3 separate regions of the Homo sapiens genome follow, and regions 1 and 2 are each linked to region 3. Evidence: promoter capture Hi-C in 16 types of primary human blood cells and fetal thymus (Javierre and others, 2016). All regions are on one chromosome and are shown on one strand. Each heading gives the region's core, a stretch centred on a gene start or on the middle of the fragment in contact. The rest is flanking DNA. Distances are from core to core; before and after follow the strand shown.

The links. The method cuts DNA at HindIII sites, captures the fragments that hold promoters and counts their contacts. A CHiCAGO score of 5 or more calls a contact.
Region 1: a contact is called between a fragment that was not itself captured here and the fragment with the promoter of ACAT2 in region 3, in 4 of 17 cell types (naive CD8 T cells, total CD4 T cells, total CD8 T cells and 1 more). The highest score is 8.2, in naive CD8 T cells.
Region 2: a contact is called between a fragment that was not itself captured here and the fragment with the promoter of ACAT2 in region 3, in 5 of 17 cell types (megakaryocytes, M1 macrophages, naive B cells and 2 more). The highest score is 14.1, in megakaryocytes.

Annotation. Positions count from the first base shown.
Region 1 is chr6:160,460,665-160,464,693 of GRCh38, reverse strand. No RefSeq gene overlaps it. Among named protein-coding and RNA genes, the nearest start is that of SLC22A3, 110 kb to the right of the region's middle. RefSeq lists an enhancer at 1,707-1,756. The HindIII fragment of the contact is 8,063 bases long and covers 1-4,029 here.
Region 2 is chr6:159,169,578-159,173,360 of GRCh38, reverse strand. It overlaps FNDC1 (fibronectin type III domain containing 1), which reads right to left. Exons shown (of 23, transcript NM_032532.3): 1 at 3,656-3,783. The coding sequence starts at 3,764. FNDC1-AS1 (FNDC1 antisense RNA 1) reads left to right here and starts at 3,354. Exons shown (of 4, transcript NR_121668.1): 1 at 3,354-3,549. RefSeq lists an enhancer at 2,607-3,106. The HindIII fragment of the contact is 1,395 bases long and covers 1,508-2,902 here.
Region 3 is chr6:159,759,900-159,763,641 of GRCh38, reverse strand. ACAT2 (acetyl-CoA acetyltransferase 2) reads right to left here and starts at 1,597. Exons shown (of 9, transcript NM_005891.3): 1 at 1,500-1,597; 2 at 589-723. The coding sequence starts at 1,554. It overlaps SOD2-OT1 (SOD2 overlapping transcript 1), which reads left to right and starts at 1,310. Exons shown (of 2, transcript NR_037166.1): 1 at 1,310-1,648; 2 at 2,006-3,384. It also overlaps a transcript of SOD2 not described here. RefSeq lists enhancers at 1-216, 2,285-2,344 and silencers at 1,625-1,774, 1,795-1,854. The HindIII fragment of the contact is 5,525 bases long and covers 1-2,394 here.

The DNA.
Region 1 (4,029 bases), core at 1,285-3,784, 700 kb before region 3:
CAGGCTTTATCAGGTAGAAGAGCCCTGAGCCCCCAAGGGACAAAGCTCATCAATGATGTTCCACTGTTCTCTGGGGCTCTGGCTCTAAGACCTCCACTGGGTCGGGTTTCTGGAGAAGAGGCCCATTCTCCAAAGACCCTTCAGGGTCACCACCCCTTTGGTCAGGGTGTGGCCTCATAGCTTCTTTTGAACTGGAACACATGACTGATGGCTTTAGAGCATACAAAAAATAAGTTTGCGAAAAATATCTTAATAATAATAGAAAGAAAGGAAGAAGAAACACTCCTTTATGTCTCTAAGAATAGATGTGAAACATGTGTGCCTTGGAACACCTTCTCCCTCTCTTGCCCCACGTGAGCTGGAGCTTACATGCCTGCTTGTTTTCAGTACTGCCGTAACCCTGATGGTGACATCAATGGTCCCTGGTGCTACAGAGTGAATCCAAGAAAACTTTTTGACTACTGTGATATCCCTCTCTGTGGTAAGTTGCCTTCTGTTTTGGTAAGGAAACTGCTTCCTTCATATGGATTTGCAAAAAAAAAAAAAAAAAAAAAAACCAGAAAATGGCTTTTGAGCTGAGTGCTTCTGGGGAGGAGATGGCTGCCCTCTCCACCAGAGCCTGCCCTTCGTCATGGGCATCTTGAACCTGCCCTACAATTGGCCCCATTTGTTAGGGAAACACCCGCCCCTCCCACCACACACACATAAATAAAATAAATGTAAAATTCCCAAAGAGCACACTTAGAGGTGATCTAATCAGCCCCAGGGTGGTCCCACTGAGCACTTCAGTGTCTAGCATGGGATGCATGAAAAAGAAATTTACAGTCATTCGGATAAAAAACCTTTCTCTTCTGCAGCTGAGAAGTATGAAAAATATACGAACAGCAGGGCACAGCTAAGCATGTGGTGCACATTGTAAACCTACAGATGGCCATCCTAGGAATTCAGTGAAGGGTAGTGCAGCTCTTTAGCCCCAAATGGCCTTTCTCCTAAGATTATTCCTCACGATTCACATTAGCATCATTGCTTAGAGACTGTTTGTTGGGTTCCCTCTTCATTGCTCCAAGACTCTTGTTGGGAGTATGAGGCTTGGATCAGGGTAAGTGGAGTTGACATTAGATCTTAAACAACTGGGATAACAAATCCATGGGTATTTCTGAAAAAACAAAAAGCCACTTGGACTTGTCCCCTATTTTACTTTCTGCTGACCAATCAACTTGTCTGTCCTAGTTACAGAAAGCTGTCCTGGACTTTTCATTTGTATAATTTGGTTGCTTGTGGTTGGGTCTGCCATGTGGAAGAACCTTGAGCTGGGGGAAGCAGCTTGGCCTCCAAGTCCACTGAAGACCACCATTCCAAGATTTCCTGGGGAGGCGGTACAGGGCAGTGATGAAGATTATGGGAGCCACACTGCCCAGCTTCGCATTTGGGACACTCCTGGGGAGAGCAAGAGGGAAGAATGAGAGGTTAGGGTGATAGTAAAGATTCTACTTGGCCAATATTATTGTATTGTGGCATTGTGGTCTCTGGATTTAGTGTGAGTTGATAGCTGACCTTTTCCTTGAGTGGGTGTTTTTGTTTGTTCTGCAGAAGCATCTTGGTGGCTCCTCTACCTGAAAGTCCCTCGATGGGGTCAGTTCCAGTTCTCCACTTCTGGCCCCGTCTGGTACATGCCACTGCCTCTCACTGCCTGGGCTCTCTATCCTTGACAGGCTGCCTTGAAGTTGAGCCCACACTGACTTTCTTGCCTCAGACCCCACTACTGTGCCTGGGACTCATGCACCTTTGACTCCTATGGTAGGAAAGTGCAGTAGCTTCCCAGGTGCATTTCTGCTGTCCTCACCCACATAAAGGTTGTATGAGAATCGAGTTCTTAAAGATTGGAGAAAGAAGGAAGAATGGGAGCAAGATTTTTCCCAATGGACTGTGAGGTCCCCCACCTAACCTTGATGTAAGACAAGTGAGGTTAACCCCAAGCCTTGTGAGAAGGGTTCCCATAAGACACTTGGAAATCCTCAGAACTGTTTCCTACAGAAGGATGTGGTTGGTGGGTTTGGTTTCCTGCAGAAGGATGTGGTTTATTCAGGTTTGACTCATGCTTGAGAAATCTAGAGACTCTGGTGGAGAATGATTTTAATAGCTAGTTCATTTCCACTAAGACATTCAGTATAAATAATAAGTAAAAATAAATAGAAACATTCAGTTTTATTTTAAATAGTAGGAGCAGGTACCATAATTTCTGTAGTTACTCTTTTAGTACAATGATGCATGTATACTGTGTGTAAGGCATATTAGCAGAAATTGAGTTCAGCACTAGGGAAGATGATTTCATTCCATGCAATGTTTCTTTAAAAAAAAAAAAGACTTATATAGATAGATTCTCAGAACAGCCCATGGCAAATGGACAGTTATTTGGAAAACTCAGGTTCCAAATTCACTGGAGTGTAGAATCTCTGGTTGGTTGGGGAGGAAATTCCTCTTGCAGTTGTTATTAATAATTATGTGAATATTATTAACTATATTAATGTTTATAATTTTGAAGACCTTGAAGGACTGGAGACAGAGAAGCATTTTTGAACACCCTCTGTAGCCTATGCACTGTTGTAGGCATTGATGGGTGGTACCAAAGATGGGACACTGTTCCTACCTCCAGAGATCTTGCAGGCTGGCTGCAGAGAGAAGGCAGAGAGGAGGTAAAAGAAAAATAAAGGCACATGTGTGTAAGTCACCCCAATGACAGTCAGTTAGTCATGGGAGGCTCCCCAGAGGAGCTGTCCTGAAGCTGGCTGAGAGAAGGCAACATTTCAACTTAGGACAGTAATCCTTGCTACATACAATCACACACACACATACACACACACACACACGTGCACACACAGACTCACATGCAAAAGAAACCTTCATGCCTTTCTGTAAACTTTATGTGGGTTAGATGGGGATGGTGATGAGGATGATGATGGGAAGGATGACATCATGTTCTAAACATTGTTCGGAATAACAATGACGAATAACTATTTGTGCCAATCAAGGTCTTCTCAGAAAAGATCTCATTCTAATGCTGAACTATACCAATTTCTTTGATCACTTCTCCAACAAAATAATTAGAAAGCGCTTATATTTCCTTGAAAGGAGAGCATCCTGTGTTGTTTACTACCACTTTTGAAACCTAGAAAAAAAATCTAAAAGTTGTTTATAATTTTACTGTTTAATTTCACCTTTGAAATATCAAAAACTCAGTGCTTGGAATTTGTCCTAAATTAATTGACAAAATTGCCAACTTGGACTCAAATGCGACTTCTTTCCCACCTTGTGCCACAGCATCCTCTTCATTTGATTGTGGGAAGCCTCAAGTGGAGCCAAAGAAATGTCCCAGAAGCATTGTAGGGGGTTGTGTGGCCCACCCACATTCCTGGCCCTGGCAAGTCAGTCTTACAACAAGGTAAGAACAGGCCCAGAAACCAACTATATTGTCCTTCCACACAAGCCCCACAAAATCCTTCTACATTTACACAGAACCCACACAGCTGAGGCATCAGTACCTGCCTCTATGTTTTCTGAAGGAGGAAAAAATATAGAAAAATAAAAATAATTATATTATTTTAGGTTCTCTACTTTGAAAATGGCCAAAATTGGAATCTTTTTCTTGATCTAAGTAGCTACATCAAAATCTGTAGGCGCAGTGATTTGCACCAAGTTCCGATATTGCTGGAAAATATTGAAGATGCTCTGAGGGTTTCTATGGATATCCATTGTCTCACTGTCAGATGAAAAGAGAGGGAAGTTTTTAGAAATGTGACACTTTGCAGTGAGGGAGGACAAGAGCAAACTTACCTACAGTCTGTCACAGGCACGATTTTTTTTTTACACTTTTGTGAATCATTGAATTCAATGCCGAGGCTACTCATCCATTCACAAACACAGGAAAAAATTATAGGTCATGATCCCCATAAATGAAGAGTAATCAGTCCAATCCCACAGAACCTGGACCTTTTGGGTATTGTTTCAGTGGAACATGCCTTTCATAAGTTC
Region 2 (3,783 bases), core at 956-3,455, 590 kb after region 3:
TGCAGGTTGAGCCACAGGCGAGCTTCTAAAGGCTTCCAGAGATGGAAGGAGCCTCCTTCAATTGACCTATTCTGAAGCGCGGAGACTAGCCCAAGGCCCCCAGAGGTGCAGGACAGCACTGCCACTCACACCCAGGCATCCTGATTTTTAACCTACTTCCCTCCGTATATACCAGTGTGTCTCAAACATTTTGGTGTCTGAATTATCTTCTATTCTTAAATTTACGAGGATGCCAAGGAGGTTATGTTTCTGTGAGTTTTATCTATCCTTATTGACTTTACTGGGAATTAAAACGAAAATATGTACTTATTTATTTTAAAAAACAATAATAAACCATTACATGTTGACATACAAATATATTTATATGAAAAGTAACTGTTTCCCAAAACAAAGAGAAATGAGTGAGAAGAGCAGCTTTGTTTCTACATTTTGGCAAATCTTTTTAATAGAATATCTCCGATCTGCTTATGCATTCAATCTATTGCAATATGTCGTTTTGCTTGGAGAAAACCCAGCCTCACACAGATGTGTAGCTGGACAACTATTTCAATAGCCTTTTTGGATAATTTTGAAAAATCTTTGATATTACACCAAAATTCATCAAGTAGCCAATTCTTAGAATCTGAAATCATATGAAGAATTTTTCATATTTTGTTACATTAAAAATCCATTGGGCTATCATGCACTTTGAACAGACCTTTTACCCATGCAAGATTGTTGTAAGGCTATACACTGGTCATTTGGATCTATTGGTTTATTTGGTTATGCAGATCATCCAAATGTTGACACATTTTATGAGATGACATTTACAAATCACATTCATTTATATCACCATTGATCTCACTAGAAAAAAATTTAAATATTGGGAAACTTTCAAGCTTACAGTGGTGGAAACAACTTGGCAAAATTCTGATTTTCACTTGAAAGCTGAAATGTTATCATTGGCAAGCAATAATAGCAGTTATTTTACTAGAAGTAGCAAGTTCCCTTTGTTCATTTTTGAGAAAACATCGGCCAAATACCCAAGTCAGAATAGCTCTAGTTTGTCTGTTGTCATTCTTTGTGGTAAATACCACATTCCATTTTAAAAAACCAGCTAGCTTAATGCATAACACAAACAATCACACCAGTGCTTCCCCCTGGGGTTGCCACTGAACTTGGTCATCAGCAGTAGTAACTTATGTGTCCTTCCCATTTATTTACACTATTAAAAAGACATACACTCAAAGATACAAAGATTTGGTAAAATTAATAATTTTACTGTGGCATCAAGAACATTCTTAATGAAACTGGCAAATTTTTTTTAACTGCAAAGTCCCCCCAAAATTCAAAGACTACTAGTGCATGGTGATGTCCCTGCCTTGATTCTCAGTAAGACACCCGCAGTTTACCCATCAAGCTTTTGCACCCTCAGTGCAAATGTCAACTGTGAAAAAGGAAAATAGCATCTTAGTAATCTTAGTATTACTTTGAAAATAGTTTTGACATGGAAAATTCCCTAAAAGCTTCTTTAAAGAAGAAAATAAAAATCATCCCTAACCATCCTAAGATACCCACTGCAAATATGTGCATGTGTGAGTACATCCACATGTGTTTAGAAAAATGTATCATACCAGACTGGCAAGGCCATCATAATTTTAATGTTTGCATAGTATCCTATTGTAGGGATGAATATGAGTGGAGGAGGGGACACTGCTTGCTTATTTTGTTTTATGTTTAATTGACCCTACACTGAAGGGCTTATCCAGATCTTCAGTGTGTCCTGCTTTAAGCAAAGTCCCTCGGAGCCACTATTATGTGGCCGTGGGTAATTTCCTTACAGAGATTCTGGCCCCAAAAGGGTGGTGAAGGGGAGAGCTTGACACAAGCAGCTCGCTTGGTCCATGCATTAGTTCAACCAGAGAGAGGGAGCAGTCTATCCATGACGTTGCTGTCAAAGGGAGCCCATGAAAGAAGTTATGTACCCCATAATTTCATCCACAGCATGGGGAGCTATCTACAGGTTGCTATGTCTGTTTCTATCCTTCTATTACTTAATTTAAATTTAGTAGATTTCATTCTGAAATGTGCCTGTCCTCCTTTGTCCACCTCTAGTCTGGTCATCATTTGACTGTAGATCCCACGTCAACACAGTAGAGAGAAGGGCTGGGAAGCTGTCCAGCCCCAGCATTCCTCAGCACAGTGATTCACAGAGCAGAAGGCGAAAAAGCAAGAGTGCAGATCGCGGTGGGATTCCAGGAGCTCTCACAAACAACCCCGCTCGGACCCACTCACATGCAACCCACGGGCAGGTGGCAGAGGAATCGGAAAAGCAGAAGGCTGGAATCGCCACAAAGCCAGGGCAGCACTGGTTCCAGTTTCAGATCATTTTCAGAAACAAAAACTCTTCCAGCACTCTGAAAATTTTCACTTAGAAAAACAAAAGCCAGGAGTTGTAGGTGGGGAAGTTGGAAGACTTTATTTAGTTTTATTCCTCTCAAGTACTGTGCAAAGTATTCAGTGAATACTTTCCTAGAGTTCACTAATGGGAAGAAAAAGACCCTACGGCAGGCACTGCCTTTTATGAGAAAGTGGCATTGGCATCAGAATACCTCGCATAAACCTGAGCCAAGCATTGGGATGATGTATCTACCAAAAAGTCACAAAGTAATGTGATCCCCAACTTTTCTTCCTTTACCCCTGAAGTAAGAGAACAATATATACACTAAATAGCATCATAAAACTGGTACCCTCGTTGGAATAGTATCTGACGATCATTGTCTGCTTCTTGGATTTCTACAAACCAATAACCTAAAAGCCAGTTTCAAGTGTAAAAATGCCTGCAAAGGAGGTGGTAACAAGGGCCGCCAAAGGCTTAGGAATGAAAACCTCGCCACAAACTTGTCTCTCTCTGCAGGAAGCTTGCAAGAAATCTGACAGGAGCGCGCTAGCATTTTCTGAAAAGCATTGCTCTCAAAGGAAGCATCCATCCTGGCTGCAGCCTCAGCCATTGGGGAAGGGCGAGTTTCTCTGGAATCAGCTTTCTCATTTCCCTCTCCCTCCTCTCAAGACAAACATTTTCTCCCAGCTTGAACGTTCCCCCCGGGCGCGCGGGCCTCCTGCCGCCTGGAGCCGAGCTGGCACTGGAGCGCTTCTCCTCTGGAGCGCAGAGGCACCCGACGCCCTGCGGCAGCTCGCAGCCTTTCCCCCACGACCTTCTAGAACAGCCCTGCTCTGCCTCCCTCCGGTCTCCCGAGTGCGCCCGTCATCCTGCCTCGCGAGAGGTGAACGCGGAGAAAGTAGGATGACCACCTACGCTCCCGAGAAATTCTGGGCAAAGAAAGGCATTACCCCAGTCCGCACGCTGAAAGTCGCCTTTCTTTTCCTTTTTTCCCCGCTGTGCCTGAATCTCCCGGGACACTTAGACGGCTGGAGCCTCCCGACTCCAAGGCGGGCGACGGCAAAGTTAAACGCCAGCGCGCTGCGGTCCCCGGGCACCGAGGCGTCCCCGCTCCCGCCACCCACACAGGGCGCCAAGTGCCCCGACCCGCGAGTGACGAGGACGCACAGGCTAGTGACACGACCCGTAGCCAGCACTGAGCGGGACGACGGGGCCCGAGCGCAGGAGGGTGCGCGGGGAGCTGAGGAGCGCCGGGGGCCCGGGCGCGGCGCGTACCTGAGGCCGCCGCCGAGGAGGCGACGGGGAGCAGCGCGGCCAAGAGCAGCAGCGCCGCCCAGGACAGCCGGCGCGGCGCGCGCAGGGTCGCCCCGGCCTCGGGGGCCATCGAGAGCCCGGGGTGGGCC
Region 3 (3,742 bases), core at 348-2,847:
AAAAAAAAAAAAGGAAAAGAAAAGGCAGTGTAGGTGGTGTAGGTCAGTGGTCTAAGTTCATTCACAAAAAGCATATTAATGAAGCTAAGTCTTTTTGTTTGTTTAGAGAAGGGGTCTCACTCTGTCACCCATGACGGAGTGCAGTGACACAATCACTGCAGTCTCAAACTCCTGGGCTCAAGTGATCCTCCCACCTCAGCCTCTCCAGTAGCTGGGAGGCACAGGCCATCATACCTGGCTATTTTATTTTTTGTAGAGACGGGGTCTTGCTTTGTTGCCCAGGCTAGTCTCAAACTTCTGGACTCAAGTGATCCTTCCTCCTCCGCCTCCCAAAGTGCTGGGATTACAGGCGGGAGCCACCCTGCCTGGCCAAGAAGCTGAGTCTCAAGCTGGATAGAAGCTACTGACAGGGCTGGAAGAAGGGGGCCAACAGGAGGAATCATAACAGAGGGAACTCTGAGCAAAAGCAAGGAGGCAAGAACTTGAGTGAGTGAGAGAGTGTGTGAGTGTGTGAGAGTGTGTGTGTGTGTGTGTGTTTATGGGCTGTTTCTAATAAGCCTGACTTCTCCTGGAATCACTGAGACTTACCTGCTGCCAAGACATGTCCAAAGATGACCTCAGACACATCTTCCGGAGCCACAGTGGCCCTCTTCAAGACTTCTTTGATGACAGTGGAGCCCAGGTCCTGGACAGGAACAGCAGCTAAGGCACCATTGAAGGAACCTACAATAGAAAGGCGGAGAGCGTGGACATCACAAGCCTGCGGGTAATACGGGAACCACCTACGAGCAGGGGAGCCTCATGACCCTGTTTGGCAAGGCCACGCGAGGAGGCAGTGCCCTCTCCTCCCACACGTTCCTACACCTGCTGGTCTGAGCAAAGGTCAAGGTGGGTGCCACAACTCGCAGCAGCCGAGGGCTGGACAGGCGACCTCCAGAACGGCCTAGGGACGCCGCTGTAGCCCTTCTATTTCCCCAAATCCGAAGGACTGGATGCGACCCCATGCTTCCCAAACAAAAGGAACCGGCGGGTCAAGGGCGTTGAAAACCATGCGGCACGAAGGAGACGAAGTCACGACTTCTAGCCATTGTGTGACAGCCCGACCCCAGCCCAAAGCCGGGCTCAGACCACCTAGCAGTTCCGCCCCTGCCGCAGGCATTACCGATGGCGCCTCCCGGAGCCGGCCAATCAGGGGCCCCGGAGGAGAACACCTCCCTACGCCAACCAATGGGAGAGGCAGGCCACGCGATGGCTCTACCCCGGGAGCCAATCCAAGCACGAGGGACGGAGTGCGCACATCGGGAGAGGAGAGGGTGGGGCTGTAGCACCAGGTCAGGGAACGCGGGAGCCGCAGGGTTCCAGGGATCCCGCGGCTCCTCGCGGCTTGGCCTGACCGGCTTCCTCCACATACGCCCCTCTCCTACACAAGTCCGGCCCTCGGCGCTCCTGCCGAAGCAGCAGGCGCCTCGGACTCTGCGCGGCTCCCGCCGGCCACTCACCTATGATGGTCCGCGCCGCCGAGACGATGACCACAGGATCTGAGCCTGCATTCATCTTGCTTCTCCTGCCGCCGTCTGCCCTGCGCTGCCTGCAAGCTAGGCAAAGCTCCTCCTCGCAGCCCACAGGCCTGCCGCGGGCGGGACCTGAGGTAGCCCCGCCCCTCGCCCTCCACCTCCCCGCGCACCACCTCCCCGCGCATCCCACTGTGCGCAGGCGCAAGGCCGGAGCAGGGGCGGGCGGAGGCGCGCGGGGCGCGGGGCGCGGGGCGCGGGGCGGAAGTGAGGCCGGGGCGCGGGGCGCGGGGCGGAAGTGAGGCCGGGGTCTGGGCTTGCGGGCAGAACCGCGGACCTCGGACGCATTTACAGAGCGCCTGAAACCCCAGTGTTTCTGGACACCCCAATGTTGGAGTTCCCCGACTTGACGTCTTGGGCTTTTTTTTAAAAAATCTTAGGGTTTCTCGAAACAGTAAAGACTGGGGGGTGACAAAGACTTATCTCTCGTTCAGCTCAGGACTGGAATCCCACGGGCGAGAATCTCGAGTGCGAGCCCGGCCCGCGGCGGGTCTCAGCACAGCTCTGATGGGTCCTTTTGCTCTCGGCGGCTTCGGGAGGTCCTATGCGTTTCTCCTGGCGCCAGTCATTCGCTCGCGTGAGGGGCTTGCTAGGAGCGTCTCGGTGCGAGCCCCCTGCCTTCTAAGATCAACTCTGGCTGTGAACGGGTGAGGACGCCGGGAGCGTCTTAGCGTCACAAAAGTTCCTTTGGTTGACGTTTGGACAGTGAAAGGAGCATGTAACAAGTGGGGTCAGTTTTGTTTAAAACCCTTTCTGACTTCCCAGCCTCTTACTGGGCAAAGTTCATAATTTTTCTGAGCTTTCTAGGGTTTCCAGGCAAGCTTATGAGGGGCCACCGTTACAGCAACTTGTTGGGAACACCTGGATAGTGGAACAAGAAAGCTTTGTCACAAAGTCATGAAGGGGAAAACTGTTGACGGACCTGGAGAATCTTCCTGAAGAACTTTAAAGTTGATTGAAAGAATCATTAAATCCTGGAAACCTACATTAAGACTTTGCAGAGATATGCGGATGGGTCAGATAAATCAGAGAAGGTAAAGAGTGTAGGCCCCAGAGGTGGGGCAATAGAGAAGGAAAAAAATTGCATAACAGTGCAATTTCAGGAGAAATCTTTAGGGTCTGGAATAGTGGTGAAATCAGCTGTCTACTCTGCTAAGAACTCAGCAGCACACTGAAGTCTCTTCAGTTGTCTTCAATGTGTTTCCTGTCCCCTAACATATCTGAGTCCAAGGAATTCAAGGAATGCCTCCCGTGGCTTTTGCTCTATTCTATCCCATTTTCCCCTTACTCCCTGGCCACTTCTGAGTCTTTGTGGGCTTACTCTCACATCCCCTTAACATGTTCCCCAAGGCTCCTACTTTGCACCAGCTCCCTGGGTAATACCAGTCATTCCTACGGCATCAATCACCACCTGTATACTGACAAGTCTGAAATCCTTACATCTAACCTCGTCTCCTAAGCTGACTGACCCTCTTCATTTAAATTCTTACAAGCACATCAGGTCGGGCACCTTGGCTCACACCTGTAATCCCAGCACTTTGGGAGGCCGAGGAGGGCGGATCATTTGAGGTCAGCAGTTTGACACCAGCCTGGCCAACATGGTGATATCCCGTTTCTACCATAAAATAGAAAAATTAGCCGGGCGTGGTGCCGTGCGCCTGTAATCCCAGCTACTGGGGAGGCTGACATGGGAAAATCGCTTGAACCTAGGAGGCAGAGGTTTCAGTGAGCCGAGATCACACCACTGCACTCCAGCCTGAGCGACAGAGAGAAACTGTCTCAAATAAATAAAATTTCCTATAAGCACATCAAATTTGACATATTGAAACCAAACTCTTCCAGCCTGTTTCTTCTGTAATCTCAGTGAGCAGTGAAACTATCTTCTGTTAACCAAACCAGAAATTTACCTCTGAAACTCCCCCTAAACATCACTTCTTCCAGAAAAACCTTCCAATCTCCTGCATTTGGTGCAGCATCTTACCCCTAACTTCCTCTTTCAACTTACCATGTAATTCCTAGTTTATCTGTCTCCTCTACTGACTACATAAGCTTTCCAAGATGATCCTGTTACACTGCTTTATGCACAGCTCCTAGCACATTATAGGCAGTTATGAATGAACACCAATATTCTTTATGGCCAGTGCCTAGCACATTTGAATGAGTATGAATAT